Linked DNA regions of Homo sapiens: all the other regions are linked to region 1. Evidence: promoter capture Hi-C in 16 types of primary human blood cells and fetal thymus (Javierre and others, 2016). All regions are on one chromosome and are shown on one strand. The core of a region is centred on a gene start or on the middle of the fragment in contact, and the rest is flanking DNA. Distances in the headings are between cores, read along the strand shown.

What was found. The method cuts DNA at HindIII sites, captures the fragments that hold promoters and counts their contacts. A CHiCAGO score of 5 or more calls a contact.
Region 2: a contact is called between a fragment that was not itself captured here and the fragment with the promoter of SECISBP2 in region 1, in 3 of 17 cell types (total B cells, naive B cells and fetal thymus). The highest score is 9.1, in total B cells.
Region 3: a fragment that was not itself captured here is called in contact with the fragment with the promoter of SECISBP2 in region 1 in 1 of 17 cell types (M0 macrophages); the score reaches 5.0 in M0 macrophages.

What each region holds. Positions count from the first base shown.
Region 1 is chr9:89,315,494-89,320,593 of GRCh38, forward strand. SECISBP2 (SECIS binding protein 2) reads left to right here and starts at 3,007. Exons shown (of 17, transcript NM_024077.5): 1 at 3,007-3,119; 2 at 4,159-4,304. The coding sequence starts at 3,084. CKS2 (CDC28 protein kinase regulatory subunit 2) reads left to right here. Exons shown (of 3, transcript NM_001827.3): 3 at 880-1,210. The coding sequence ends at 932. RefSeq lists an enhancer at 2,657-2,876 and a silencer at 3,047-3,366. The HindIII fragment of the contact is 8,029 bases long and covers 1-4,483 here.
Region 2 is chr9:90,106,691-90,111,790 of GRCh38, forward strand. No RefSeq gene overlaps it. Among named protein-coding and RNA genes, the nearest start is that of MIR4290HG, 68 kb to the left of the region's middle. The HindIII fragment of the contact is 6,474 bases long and covers 1-5,100 here.
Region 3 is chr9:88,588,539-88,593,638 of GRCh38, forward strand. No RefSeq gene overlaps it. Among named protein-coding and RNA genes, the nearest start is that of NXNL2, 56 kb to the left of the region's middle. RefSeq lists an enhancer at 860-1,365. The HindIII fragment of the contact is 2,446 bases long and covers 1,039-3,484 here.

The sequences.
Region 1 (5,100 bases), core at 1,757-4,256:
AAGTAACACATTATTCTACTTGGAAAATAATGTAAGAAGTAAAAAAAAAAAAAAAAAAATGTATTTTAAAATCTGTATCATTGTTAACAGTATCCCAAAGCATTTTATCATAAGTATATCCTAAGACAAGTGTTCTTATCTATGTGTGGAAATTGATTTAATTTAAAGTGATTCTTCAGCCCTCTGAAAGGATATATACCACATGAAGTTTAAATGAGGTAATAGCATATGAACTCAACTGTGCTTATGGGTACCTTATGCTATTATGTGGTATTAACCAAAAGTTTTTCAGGTGTTAAATAGTAAACTCTACTAAAACTTTGTGGGTTTTCTAGACTAAAACAGTGTGGGTTAAATTTTATATTTGGATTATCAGTAAATCTAACAGCATTTATAATGCTTTGAACAAAATTTGAAGACATACTATAGAAGCTGAAGTAGGTGGAATTAAAACTATCTTCTACTCTGCTGTTAAAGAAAAGCATTGCATCGAAAACTCTAAAAGGACTCATCACTTTCTTGGGATTGAGATACGTAATCCTATTAGAATTCAGTCCAGATAATACAAAAGCAACTGAAGAACTTAAGTGTAGATTTCTGTGCCCCACCTATTGAAACAGAATCTATGGGGATGAGCATTAGTATGAGATCCTGTAGGTGATTTGAAGGAGGTGTTTTTCCCTATAAAGAGGTAATCTTTTTACTTTTAATCTATTTACTGTAGACAGTAACTGTGAAAAAAAAATCATTTTGGATACCTCAAACCAATTAATAGTGGACTTAGTTTATTTTATTCTGGCTTAGTTGAGAATACTTTTGAATTTCTGTTGAGTATATGAAAATCATATTAAAATGATTCAAAACATTTTCTTTCCACAGAACCACATATTCTTCTCTTTAGACGACCTCTTCCAAAAGATCAACAAAAATGAAGTTTATCTGGGGATCGTCAAATCTTTTTCAAATTTAATGTATATGTGTATATAAGGTAGTATTCAGTGAATACTTGAGAAATGTACAAATCTTTCATCCATACCTGTGCATGAGCTGTATTCTTCACAGCAACAGAGCTCAGTTAAATGCAACTGCAAGTAGGTTACTGTAAGATGTTTAAGATAAAAGTTCTTCCAGTCAGTTTTTCTCTTAAGTGCCTGTTTGAGTTTACTGAAACAGTTTACTTTTGTTCAATAAAGTTTGTATGTTGCATTTATCACTGTTTCAAGTTTTTGAGGTATATTTTCTTAATTTGTGACTATTGAAATTTGTGACTATTGAAATTGATTTCAGTGTTATAGTTTTAGCTCTGAGGAAGTTAACTTACCTTAAAGATGATGTTAAATGAGTTTAAAATAGTGCGGTATGATCTGGATACCATTTAATTCACTTAATGAAGAAATTAATTACCAGGGATATGTTTAAACTAAAGCCAAAGTAGATTTTACCTCTTGAATTCCTGGAGAATTGTCTAGAACAGGAAAGCCCAAATTAATACTATCTGGGCTACTTCACTGGCCACTGGTGGTCTTGGGAGAAACCTCTTTTTTATCCTCTTCTACATTTCCAAAGTAGGGATAATGTTTCCTATAAAGTATCACCACATTTTTAAAAGTTCAAAAACACTGTAAAACACCTTTGCCTTTTTAGCTGCTAGGAAAGTGTTTTGGAGTTATTCTAATTAATTGCTATGCTATAGAAACATCTTAAATGAGCAGCCAGCATACATCAGGTCCATTGGTTAAGAAAGGGTGTCTTTACACATGAGGGCAATAAATTTTGAAGGTTGTGATTAGCAGCATCCTAAAATCTACTGCCACTACCATAGGTTGTGTCCAGGGTAACCAACAGAAACATGACAAAATCAAGTAAACTTCATTACACTTCCGGGTAGACCCAATAGTGCTGAAAGGAAGGCGACAGCTACCCCTAAACTTCCAGCATAAATTCCTGCCAGACCAGACCCTAAGGATCACTTCTGCTAGAGGCTGTGTAGTGAACTGAGACCCACCAGGACAGAAATCTGAAAAAACTGGAGCTGCACCTGCCTTACTTGCTTGAAATACTTCGTATTCAATGGTAGAGTTAACGTCTGTGCAAGGGACAGAGGAAACCTACAATTTGCCTCAACCTAATCCCCATTCCTCAAATAGCCTGTTTTGCTGACATTTTCTGTTCCTTAAATCCACTTGCACTTTCCTCCAAGCCTTTGAGTGAGAGGAAAGTTCCTCCTCCATCTATTGAAATCCACTCTGCATTCTTCCCTGTACTTTTGGTCAACCTCCTATCCCTGCCGCACTTTATACATTTCTCTCAATATTTAACGAATTTGCTCTGTGTAGAACTTTTTTTTTCTCGTGAAAATTATACTATTCCATCTCTTGACCATATCTTAGCACTTTTTTTAATTTTTGAAAGAAACCGAGCGATTTTTAAATTATTTTCTGTGGCTACTTCCAAACTTAAGGTTTCTGGAAATTTAGGATACCATCAAGAGTCTTGTAGGCTTTCCAGGTTTGTAGGACCTACAGGGTATGCAATTCCTGTAAGTCACCAATCTTGGGGAAATTTTAGGGAAATGCAGTGGCGGGGGTGAGAGTAATCTCGGCCTCCTCAGTTTCCTTATTAGTAAATCTTTCTCTTCAGGTGACTGCTCAAAGGTCACCTCAGCGAGAGGCCTTTCCAGACTACCCCATCCCGTCCTAACGCTAGACTCGTGAGGCCCAGGGGAGAAAAGTAAATCACGGCCTAACTCTTGTTTATAGTCGCTACTGCCTTGGTGGAGACTATCTCCGATATCCCAGCACTAAAAGGCAGATCCAAGACTCCCGCAAGCTACGGTGGGTCCCCAGCCCAGAGGACTCCTGGGGGTCCCCATTTTCCGCAAGCGCCCCACTGCCTCCACGTGCTGCCCGCGCAGGTCCAGTGCCGCCGCCGCGTACTTCCGGCCGGAAGAAAGGGCGGGCTCTGTCGCTTTGCTGTGACGCACTTCCTGGCGTCGCCTGCGGGGGCGGAAACGCTTTGTCTGTCCGGCAAGCCGACGGCCCGCTGCTGGCCTCCGTGACGCGGCCTCCTCCGCGCCTCGCGGCATGGCGTCGGAGGGGCCGCGGGAGCCCGAAAGCGAGGTAAGGGCCGACGGGGGCTCTCTCGGCAGCCTCAGTCCGTCCGCCTGCCTCGCACTGGGGGCTCGGCCGGGCGGTGACGGGGCTGGTCCAGCGGGCGTGGGTCGGATGCTGGTGACGGCACGGGAGCGCCCTACCGGGTGGCCGCGATCTTCGCGCCCCGCCTCGGGTCCGCCTTGGGGTGGCGGTCAGCGGCTACAGACCCCGCCCACAGTTAGCGCCGCGTCTGTGGTGCGATGTCACCCAGCGCAGTGACTGCGGCCCAGCCCGGCGCTCCCCGCAGTCGGGGCGGGGGGACTCTGGCGAGCTTCCCGCGCTCTTGGGAACGGATAGATTGTTTTAAAGGATCCTGCGTTTTTCTGAACGTCATTCTCCGCTCTACGTACTCAGCATTACCACTAGATGGAGCCCTGGCGATCGCTTGCATCATTTTTAGACCCATAAAATTCTCGGTGAAAGTAAATCTCTTACTACGTCACTAAAAACTAAAGAAAGAAATCTTAGTGAATTGAAATTTCAAAGGCTCGTGGTGATAATATTTTCTAGCAAAGCAAGGTTTGGTATTTCAATAAAGCAAGACTTAGTGGTTCATGAGTAAAATGCATATGCTTTTGTGCAACTTTTTCAAGAAAATGTAATGGAAATAAACGTCTGCAGTGTGTTTTGGGTGCTGTAGTTAAACAGTCCACGTGTATTTGACTGCAGTAGTTGTACTGTGTGCAGTTCTATTATTTCTAAGTGAATCTGTGGTAAAAACACCCTTATTCCAAGATCTAAACTATATAATCTGTGTTGTTTTATTTCCACTTGAATTCGTTGTCATTTTTCACTTTTAATGTTTGAACTACTGCCTTTTCTACAAAAAAAAAAGCATTGGGGAGAAATCGTTAGCAAGCAGGTTCTTGTCTTTACGAGGCAGAAGTTTTTAAACAACATCGGGAACATTTCTGGGGCTATTAGGAACACCTCTTGGGTCTTTTTGTTTGTTTATATTTGCTTGATCTCTGAATGTTTGTGGCCAAAACCTCATATTTTTCCTCAGGGCATCAAGTTATCAGCAGATGTCAAACCATTTGTCCCCAGATTTGCCGGGCTCAATGTGGCATGGTTAGAGTCCTCAGAAGCATGTGTCTTCCCCAGCTCTGCAGCCACATACTATCCGTTTGTTCAGGAACCACCAGTGACAGAGTATGTATCTTTCTAAAAGTCTTACCTAGGGGCTTACATTTTGGATTTAATGGTGATTAGACTTTCAAATACTCAGCAGTTACTGCACTAAAGTTCTGCAGATGATGAGAGAATGCTCTTCAACCAAGAAGAGTCTGAGCCAGTAGCACAACTTAACTGTATCCTGTGCCAAAAACAGAAGCTTTAACTCCCCTTTTTTTTCTTCATACTCATTGTTATTTTCGGCAAAGAAATAGTAGAGACTGCATTGCATTTGTTAATAAGAAATGCAGTTTCAGGCCAGGCGCTGTGGCTCACGCCTGTAATCCCAGCACTTTGGGAGGCCGAGGTGGGTGGATCACCTGAGGTCAGGAGTTCAAGACCAGTGTGACCAACATGGTGAAACTCCGTCTCCACAAAAATACAAAAATTAATCAGGTATGGTGGCGGACACCTGTAATCCCAGGTATTCGGGAGACTGGGGCAGCAGAATCCTTTGAACCTGGGAGGCAGAGGTTGCAGTGGGCCAAGATAGCACCACTACACTCAAGCCTGGCTGACAGAGTGAGACTCTGTCTCAAAAAAAAAAAAAAAAAAAAAAAAATCCCGTTTCAAGGTTCATTTGTTCATATGGTTTAAAAATATATCATATATCTAATGGGAGATGAAATGTGGAGGGAAGGGCAAAGAAAGGACCAAATAAACGTACTCCTCCTTTTTAAGGTTAACATTTTAAAATCTTGTTGAGCGAAGGGGAGGGGACTAGCAACCATAGCTGCCTCTGTGTGGATAATTTTTTGGAAATTGTTGACTTTTG
Region 2 (5,100 bases), core at 954-3,453, 790 kb after region 1:
TTTCTACTAAAAATACAAAAAATTAGCCAGGCGTGGTGGCAGGCGCCTGTAGTCCCAGCTAATCGGGAGGCTGAGGCAGGAGAATGACGTGAACCTGGGAAGCGGAGCTTGCAGTGAGCCGAGATCGTGCCACTGCACTCCAGCCTGGGCGACAGAGCAAGACTCTGTCTCAAAAAAAAAAAAAAAAAAAAAGAGCTTCCTCTGAGGAAGTTACCTACTTTTGGTAAAGTGGGTATTTTGAGTGGCATAACTAGCATGAGCAGCATATCAGTGCAAATGCAGTAACACTATGAATTAAAAAGGGAATAAGAAAGGTCTTGTGTTTGATCAAATATTTATCTATTAATGTAGAAATTCTCCTTGGAACCCTGGTTGGTGCTATTGCTTTTAACAGTAATGAAAAGAAAGAAGCAAACCTATCAGAGACTCTCCAAATTCCAAGCAACGGTGATCCCAGAAGCCTTGTTCTCTTCCCAGCTTGCTTTTATTCCGTTAAGTGCCTTTGTGGCCAAGTCACAGTCCTGGCAGCTAATGGCATGACTCATGCAGTGAACACACCTGCTCAGGCTGGATTCGAATCAGGAAATATTGGACACTGTCCTTGGAACTATATTTATAGCAAATGGAAGCTGTCAAAACAAAACTGTTTATTAGCAACATAGCATGGGTCTCCTAGAAAACAAATTTAAAAGTAGTGCTCCTCAGGCCTCTGTTTCTCTTGAAGTAAGAATAACTTCATTCTCAACCAACATGACAAAGATTTCCGTGATAGCACTGGCTAGTCTGATACACCATACTTATTTTTTCCAGTTAACATGTTATTTTTTTTCCAGTTAACATGAACATCTCTATACTCAGCCAAGGAGCTGTAATAACAGAGTTCCATTTGACAACAGAGCTGTCAGTGTGAATACCTTTTGCTTTCTTCTTTTCTCATTTCAGACTCTGGGACTTTGTACACAGCCAGGATTTCAGTTACCATGGGATATTTCCAAATTTAATCTCCAGCCAAAGTGTGGATATTTATGCATATTTCATAATTCAGATAGCTTACTAGACATAACCATTTGGTTTTAACACAGATACCTACGTCCAAAACTTAATTTTTTTTTTATTTCTTTAAACTTGCTTCTTTCTCCATAGTCTCTAGTTTGGTTAGAAACAGCACTACCTAATTAAGCAAGACTTTTAGTAATCATCCTTTCTTCCTCTTCCTCCTTGTCGTTCTCATTTCCACGTGCCCACTAGTTGCACTCTTCCATGCAGACACCTCCTAAACCCTTTGGCATTGGTTTCCCTGCCTCTCTTTCCTAGGCCTGCCATTCCACTAGAGGCTACGCTCTCTCTCACTGGACAATTACAACAACCTACTGCAGTGACTCAGCCCTTGGAACATGGACTCTGGGTTGGTTGGTTTGTGTATAAAAAACCCACTCCCAGGAGAGTCTTTGCTTGTCCTTCTTCCAACTGATCTTCTACTCAGGAAAACTGTTATGTGTATATGACTACTTTGCTGATTTTTATTGTTGTTATTGATGATGACCCGTTTTTGCTCAGGCAGGAAGTCCATCTAGGGAAGCCACTGTCTTTGTGAAAACTTCACACTGCAGCATATGGGACCAGGATCCTGGACACAGCAAATGTCAGCCCCAACCCCCATGTCCCCCAGATCTGTATTTCCAGCATAAACACAGGCTGGTTGGAGGAAACAGGCTGCATTTAGACACATCAAAGGAACTTGAATGCCAGAAAGAAAATAGAGTCCTATGGCTATTAGAGAGGGAAGACATCCAAGAAAATTGTCATCAGAGACTGTATCCAGTTGAGCAAACTCGTCTTTCAACTTAGTAAGGGTAATTACTATGCAAGTGTGTGTACTTACCAAGAATAAAATCTCCAGGGACACAGAGGAGACATTCCGGGTCTTTTGCCCTGGCCCCCTATGGCTGTTTGCACTGTGTCTTCTGTGTTAAAATGTACCTGAAATTTGTCTTCAGCAGGTGTGGTAGGGCAAACAACACAGAAATGACTGATATGGAGGAAGAAGTTTTTGCTCATAGTTCCCTAGAAACAGGAAGCACTCTATGCTGGGCCACATGGGGAGGCACAAGGCTTGGCCAGGAGGCAGAGAGGATAGAGGGAAAAACATGGGAAAGTGCTTTTATTGTGGTTTTCAAAGGAAGAAATGGGCAAGGCAGAGTAAGCAGCCTAGAATTTTCTAGTTTAATTCCCATGAACTCTGAGCATAAGGGATGTCTCTAGTTGTCTGCTGCTGGCCCTGGGATGACTAGGGCAGAGGAACATTGCCTCCTGTAGTATAACAGTCAGACAGAGGAGGTGGTATGGAACATGGGCTCTGGGTTCATTGGTTTGTGTATAAAAAGCCCATTCCCAGGAGAGTCTGCTGTCTGTGAGAACTGGCTGGCCCTGGGAGCAGCAGTCTCTCCCCAGTCATGAGCCCCTATCTTAGTCCATTTTGTGTTGCTATAACAGAATACCACACACAGGGGAATTTATAAAGAATAGAATTTCACTTAGCTAATAATTCTGGTGGCTGGGAAGTCCAAGATCGGGCAGCTGCATCTGCTGAGGGCCTTCTTGCTGCATTATCCCATGGTATCCCATGGTGGAAGGGTGGATGGGCAACTGAGCACTTGCAAAAGAGAACCAGGCCAGACTCACTTGATAACAACCACTCTTGACTAACCACTCCAAAGATTAACCATTCATGAGGGCAGAGCCCTCATGACCCAATCACCTCTGATTAGGCCCCATCTCCCAACACTGTTGCATTGTGAATTAAATTTCCAACACATGAGCTTTTGGGGAACACATTCAAACCATAGCAGTTCCCACCTGTCGAAGTATGATAAAGAAGGAAATAAACAACAGCATTTCCAGGTTTATCTTGGGCTGCTCTGACCAACCCCAGAGAATGATCTGTGAACACACTTGCTTTGTTTGCATCTCAGTGGCTCATGTTTTGTAGCAGAATCTGCTCTTGCCCTGCCGAAATTTTTCAGGCATTATTATTTAGAATGCTCCAGTGACTTCTGACTGCCAGTATCTGTGTATTTGGGCCTTTAGGAATTCTCCAAAGCCAAGTCAAAACTACACTGCCCTTCTAATGAAAGGCCAGGTATGACCATCGCCAATGGGCTGCAGTATATGACTGTATAAATACCCCAGCTCCCTCTCCTCTAGGTGTGTGCTCTTCACCATTTCCCAGTTTCCCTGTGAAATTAGGTTCCAAATGCTCACTTTGCTTGCTAACTTTATGCTGTATGTTTTCTCCAGTTGCCCTTCTTTTCTTCAACATTTTCTCATTTACCTCCCTGTGTTCCCTACAGTCCCATATAAACTACTTGCACATCCTTGTACTGGGATCTGCTTCTAGGGGAGTACAAACTCAATCATGCCCTCCTTTCCCTCTGCCTAGAATGTTGCTCCTTTCTTCTTGACCTGAAGAACTGCTAGAGAGCTTTCAAACTGTATCCAAAAGTGTGACATCTTCAGGAAGTCTTATCTGTTACTTGATGCTGGCTTTCCCACTCCTTTGTCTGTATTCTCACAGCATTTTCTGTATACCATCACTTAATATGTTGTGATTTATTAAATACATTTTTCTCCTTTCTAGGACTGGAAGTTCCATGAAGGACAGCGATTGTCTAATTCTTTTCCTTTGCACCCAAAAGAGCCTGGCACATGGTAAGTGATGTATAAATTCTGGGCAAATGACAGAATCTCTAAAATCAAATATACATTTTTTTACACTTTTCGGAGATTCACTTCTGTCTTAAAATCTGCAATAATTTGCCTCTCTCTGCACCTTACTCTGATTATTTTTATTATAAAAAGATATAAGTTTGGGCACCAAGAGACAAAAATCACCATTATATATTTTTAAATATTGTCTCTTTATTGCTCGCAAACATTGCCAGATGATATGCAAATATTGCCTGATTTTTGGTTACAACCCCTGCCAAAAGGTGAGGATTTTCAATTGTCCAATGGCCCCAGGCCCTTGATCTGGCTGTCTTTACTACTTTGGGGATATGCTATGGCTTGAATGCATGTATCACTCCAAAATTCATATGTTGGAACTTAATTCCCAAGGTGACAATATTAATAGGTGGGGCCCTTGGAGGTGATAAGACCCTGAGGGCTCCACCCCTGTGGATGGGATTAGTGCCCTTATAAAACGGCTTGAGAGAGAGTATTTGTCCCTTTTCTTGATCTGTCCTTCCACCAGGGAAGGACACAGCAACTAGACACCATCTTGAAGTAATATCCCTCAGCAGATATCAAACTGCCAGCATCTTGATCTTGGACTTCCCAGCCTCCAGAACTGAGAAATCAATCTATTGTTTATAAATCATCCCATCTAATGTGTTTTTGTTATAACAGCAAGAAGGGACCAAAGGTAGATGACAGAGCCTATGCTAAAAGTCTTAACACTCCAACCTCATTGAGGACTCTAAGAATTGGCTTTATGAAAACATATAAAAGCAAGCAAGCATCATTTCAAGAGAAAGCAGAGCTTCTAGCAAAGAATTTGCAAATATTCCATGTTCTTATCATCTGCTGTTTATACAAGAACCAGACTTTTGATGTTCCTTTTTCATTCCCAGCAGCTGGTCAATGTGCTGAAGAGAAGGAAAGATAGTCTTTCAGGACTATACGGAGAATTTCGTCAAGGGTCATCCAGGAATGAAAGGCTTCCGGCTTCAGGAAAGAATTTTCTATGGTAGTTTCATCACACACTTTTTACTACCAAATCCTCAGATACTCATAAACAGTAAACATTAAAGCTCACTCTATTTTTTTTTATTTTTCTAAAATTAAAAACACTATGCAGTGCCCTTAATTCTCTCCTTGTGTCTGGAGGGACCACTGGTTTACTAGGACTTGAGACTGGGCCACATGTGATGCAATGGCCACAAGGCTGAGACGGGGCTGGGAGAACAGGGATGTGGCCTCCTCTCTGCTGAAGCTGAAATCACACATCAGGCTGAGGATTCTTTGTTTGGGGCCAGGTGCAGGGGTCTCAACTATGCCTAGAAGAGCTCAATGAGAATCTAAATGGCCACCCCAGAACTA
Region 3 (5,100 bases), core at 1,012-3,511, 730 kb before region 1:
ACTAGTGCCTTCCTGAAAGAGACCCCAGAGAGCTGCCTCACCTCTTCTACCACATAGCGAGAAGGCGCTGTCTCTGAGGAAGGAGCCTTCACCTGGCCAGACAACACGTCTTCTGGTGCCTTGATCTTGGACTTCCCAGCCTGTAGAACTGTGAGAAATAATTTTTTGTTGTTTATAAGCCACCTAGTTTATGGTATTCCATTATAGCCACCCAAATGGATGAAGACAGGAACTAATACCACTCATGGGCTGAGCTTCCCCAAAGGCAAGGCCCTGCCAGGGAGGTTGGTTGGTGGAACGGCAGGAGTGGTGTCAGTCCTGCCTGTTCTCTCCCAACAGCTACGCAGACACACAGAAACTTGTGGATTTCGTGCAGAGGGGCCATGCTCTGTTTTTAAAAATTCTACTATTGATATACTTCAACAGGGTCCAGGTTGTCTCATTACCTCGTCTTTAAAGTCTTCAATAATGAATAAAGTGAATAGGAGCTGGCAGAACAATCCTTACCTCTCTCCTGACTGTGGAGGTCTTGTGGGTGGGAGATGACACATTTCTATACCATCCCTTTTCTGCCCACAGAAAATAGTGGGAAAAGATACCCAAGAACATCACACAAAGGAAAGAGAGATTTGATCTGCCTCTGTCTGCCCTGCTGGGCTGTGGGGCAGGGTGCCCTGGGCCTCAGTGTCTGCTCTATGCATGAGCAGAGAAGGCAACCAGCTGTGGGCAAGGGGAAAATGGACCCTAATTCTGGATTTAGCCACAATAGCTTGTGCTGCCCAGAATTCTCCTTTGCTCATGGCAGATTGTGGTGTGTGTGTCCACGCTGGAACAGTGTGAGCGGAGGGGTGGGGGGTATCATTTTCACTTGGTTCCATGGAGAAACCTCAAGGGAAACTGAACTTGGGCTCCAAATCTTAGTTTGTTCTACCACTCCGTAGCCTTTTCTGTTGACCCCATGTCCTGCTAGGATACTTTTGTGTCCCAGGATTTGCTCTGGTGTGACAAGAGGGCCAGAGTTAAACAGAGGAGCAGAGAAGCTTAAAAACTGGAACGTTCCCAGGGATGGTGCCAAGGTTGGTAAGCAAGGTTGAAAATGGGGCTGTGCACACACAGGGTACAGGGGAGAGGCTCCAGTTTCCTCTTCTCTGCAGGAACTAGAAACCAGCTTTAAATGTGCCCCTTGCCACATGCACACCTGTGATGCCTCCAGAAGTCCCCACTGGCCTGGCCTTGTGTAGGGGTGTGTAGACACGCCTCTCACATACCCTGTCCCCCTGGGGTGAGCCTGGCTGAGGGCAGGGCTGAGCGTGGTGTGGGGCAACCCCAGCATCACCCCTGTTCTAGATGCTTTCAGGGAGGGTGGCCCTGCAGGGATCAGAGGGCTGGCACACACAGGCTCCAGAATCAATGCAAGGCAGTGGGGAAGACCTCTCAAATTTCTTGCGAGCCACCCACTGTGCCCATCTGAGGACAAGGCCCAGCAGGGAGCCACTGGCCCCACTGCCTTGCCTGTGCCCCACTGTACATTGACACTTGGAATAGGGCATGGCTGTCACCTCACTTATTTTTACTATTTCCTCTTGATAGAGGCAGGAGGCAGAGAAACTCTAGACAGACAGGAGTTGGTCCCTGGTGAAGCCCCACTTTCAAGCCAAAAAGCCTGACACCCACGGCTTAAAGTGAGAACTTCCGTCCCTCTTTGCCTACTCTCTCCCTATTAGTTTTTTCTGAGTAATGTGTTTTTTCCATTTGAATGTTGCCTTTTCCAAAACTACTTATGGCCTGCCCCACCCCCCATCCTGTGCTTATAAGGACCCCAGATTTAGCTGGTAGAGAGAAGCAGCTGTACTTCAGAGAGAGGCAACTTGATTTCAGAGGAGGGAGGCAGAGAGGCTGCTTGACTTCAGGGGAGAGTGACCTGTCCTTTCCATCCCCTTTCCAGTTCCACTCTCTGCTGAGAGCCACTCTCATCACTCAATAAAATTTCCACATTCATCATCCTTCAATTTGTTCATGTGACCGCATTCTTCTTGGAACTGGACAAGAATTCAAGACCTACCAAATGTGGGTACCAAAAAGGCTGTCACACTGGCCCTTTGCCCTCACTGGTGGAGGGCAGCTGCCCCACGCAGCGAGACAAAAGGCCCACTGAGCTGATAACACACTGCTGTCTGTGGACAGTAGAACTAAGTATTGCAACATGCCCTCTGGGGCCTTGGGATCGCAGGCGCCCCCACCTGGATGCTGACGCAGGGCCTGCACTGAGTTTTCTCTGCTGGCGCCAAAATGGCCAGCTGGTTCCTGCATTGGCTTGCCTACTCGCTCCCTCTGGCAAGAAATGGAGTGTGGTGGGCTGGAGTAAACCGAGTTTGCTCTTGTCTGCACAGAAGCCAGAATTGGCGGGCTGGTTCCTGCACTGGTTCGCTCATGTGCTCCCTCCTGCGAGGGGTTGAGCATGGTCAGCTGAGTAAAAGGGGCACCCTTCTCGTGAGTCCTGCAAAAGGGTCAAGAAAATATCCTGCCTCACTCTCATCCATGTCCCCTGGAGAGCATGCACCTCCAATGCCGATGCTCTCTTGGGAGCAGGAAGAGGGAAAGTGAATCAGGAATATTGGGTGATTTTAGCCTTTGGTCAGACATACTTTATGGCAAATTTCCACCAAAGAGGCAATTTCAACAAATACAATATTCTGTGGCAGACACTGCTTCTTTCTCTAATTCGCATAACACTAAGAAAACATTTCCCTCTATTAATGGAGATAGGAAAGAGACAGATAATGGATCCACTGGCAAGGCGTGGCTGCCCTCCACACTATTGATTTTTCTAGCCATGAAGTTGTCTCAGGCCAAATGCAGTCAGCTGAGAGGCAGTAATGGAGGGGGAAAGGGTCTATCGTGTGTATATGTAATGCATGCTGCTAAGTTGATGAATCTTTTGGAAGGACTCTGTTTGCTGTGGAAAATAGGCCAGGGTATGCAGGCCATCAACTGCGTGGAAGATTTCATTAGAAACAGAAATTCTCCACTCAATGTGGGCATCGTTTTCTGCCTGCCGACTCTGTGGCTTCCTGGCAAGGCCAGTGAATGAGGACCCTGCAGCAGCTGCGCACATTTCGACAACAGTATTTTGTTGAGTCTCAACACAGAATTCTTTCATTCTTTAACACAAATTCTGAAATTGAGATGGGCCTTACTATTAGCAGCAAAATAGACTTGCTTGGTTCCAGGCAGAGGATGGAGCTCAGAAGCTGTGTCGTTGCTGTGAGGACACGAACGTGCCATACATATGACTGTGGACCAGCTCCCTTCGTGTGGGCAGCGTTGCAACTGGCGGCATTGTAGTTCAACTTTGTGCTCTTTACTTTGACCTAATGTGTCATCACAAAACCCCACTATAAAATTATGTAGCTATACTTTGTTGTAAGTTAAAAATTATATGTTGTACATACAATTTATCTGTTTTTATATAAAATAAAAGTTAAGCTTCACGGAGGAAATTGCCTGCTGTGTTCCAGCCAGGAGAGCTCAAGAACCTCCCTGCGCTTTGCAATGAGTGAGGGGCACCTTATGGTCCACTGAAAAGCAGAGTTTCCAAGTCAGGAACAACTCTCTGTTAAGAAGAGGGCTCACGTTTGAAGGAAACTCATCTAACAGTCACATAGGATAACTGTGACTTAACCAAGTGGCAAATGAGCATGAGGTCCTGGCATTTTTGAGGTATGTTTTGAAATAATTTCTATCCATGTAGGACAGGGTTCTTTTATTTTTTTATTTTATTTTATGTTTTTAGGTTCAGGGAGCATGTATGTGGGTTTGTTACATGGATAAATTGCATGTTGCTGAGGTTTGGGGGTGAGTACTACCATGATATCATCACCCAGGCAGTGAGCATAGTACCTGATAGGTAGTTTTTTGTGTTTTTTTTTTCAACTTTTATTTTAGGTTTAGGGCTGGATTACAAAAAAATCACTGGTGGGTTCTATGCTTAGTACCTGGGTGACAAAATAACCTGTATACCAAACCCCTGTGCACGAGTTTACCTGTATAATGAACCTGCAGCAATGGGCACACAGAGGGGAACAACATGTAGGACAGAGTTCAAACCTTAAGGGATCAGGAGCAGGAGCAAGAGTTGGTAAAAATAAAAATAAAAGTCTACCATCTGCGGCTGGGTGAAAGGTCAGTGGGCCGGGGCATTCCCAAACTATTCAAACTCATTCTCAGGACTCGGCTGCCAGCAGAGGAAGGATATTATTGTCAGTTGTGTGCGTGTTTCAGTGTTGTGTTTTCCCTCTCAACCCCCGAAAAGCTGATCTCAGGAGGAGCTGGGGAGCTCTGGGCTCTCCTAGACCAGTCTGAGGATGCCACATAATACAGAGTTTTGGGCTTTTGGAAAGACACCGAGATGCGCTCTGCGAAGCCTTCTCAGCCCTGATCAGTGGCACATGGAGGACGCTGACCCAGGCAGCACAAGCCTGCCGGCAGCCTCTTTCCATGCAGCGCTGTAATTTCTAAAGAAGGGAATCCGCACGGTGAGACTTGGGTGTATAAGGCATTCTGGGGTTGAAAAATCGAAAATCATGATTAAAAATGACCTATCGGCATCTGTGCAGAGCCTGTAGACTGGCACTGGGGGCTATGTGTCACCTCGGCCCATTGGATCTTATTGATTTGTCTGGTCATTCAGCCTCTGGTCGTTCAAGCCCAGGGCAGGCAGCTCAGCAGGAGCAACAATGGTGAGTGTGGGGTGCACACCTCTGCAGGTCAGGCTTCTAGGGCAAAAGGGAATTCCAAAAGCCTTTGCCTAAGACACTCTCAGAGTAACTGATTCACAGACAAAGATGAGATTGCTAACATTTTTATTCTTGTGATTTCGTGAAGCAGGAACAAGTGCAGGTAATTCTGCAGGCTCAGGACTCTGAACGAATCTCCACTGGGGATACAGGTACACATTCCATCTGCATCTTTCAGGCAGACAAGGGGAATGAGCAAGGAAATTCTCTGCCTTTGAAAAAAAATGCACCTACAAAAAGGTGCAAAAGCTAACAAAGAAACAAAAAAACAAGCAAAAAACAAAGACAAACCTGGTTCTGTGTC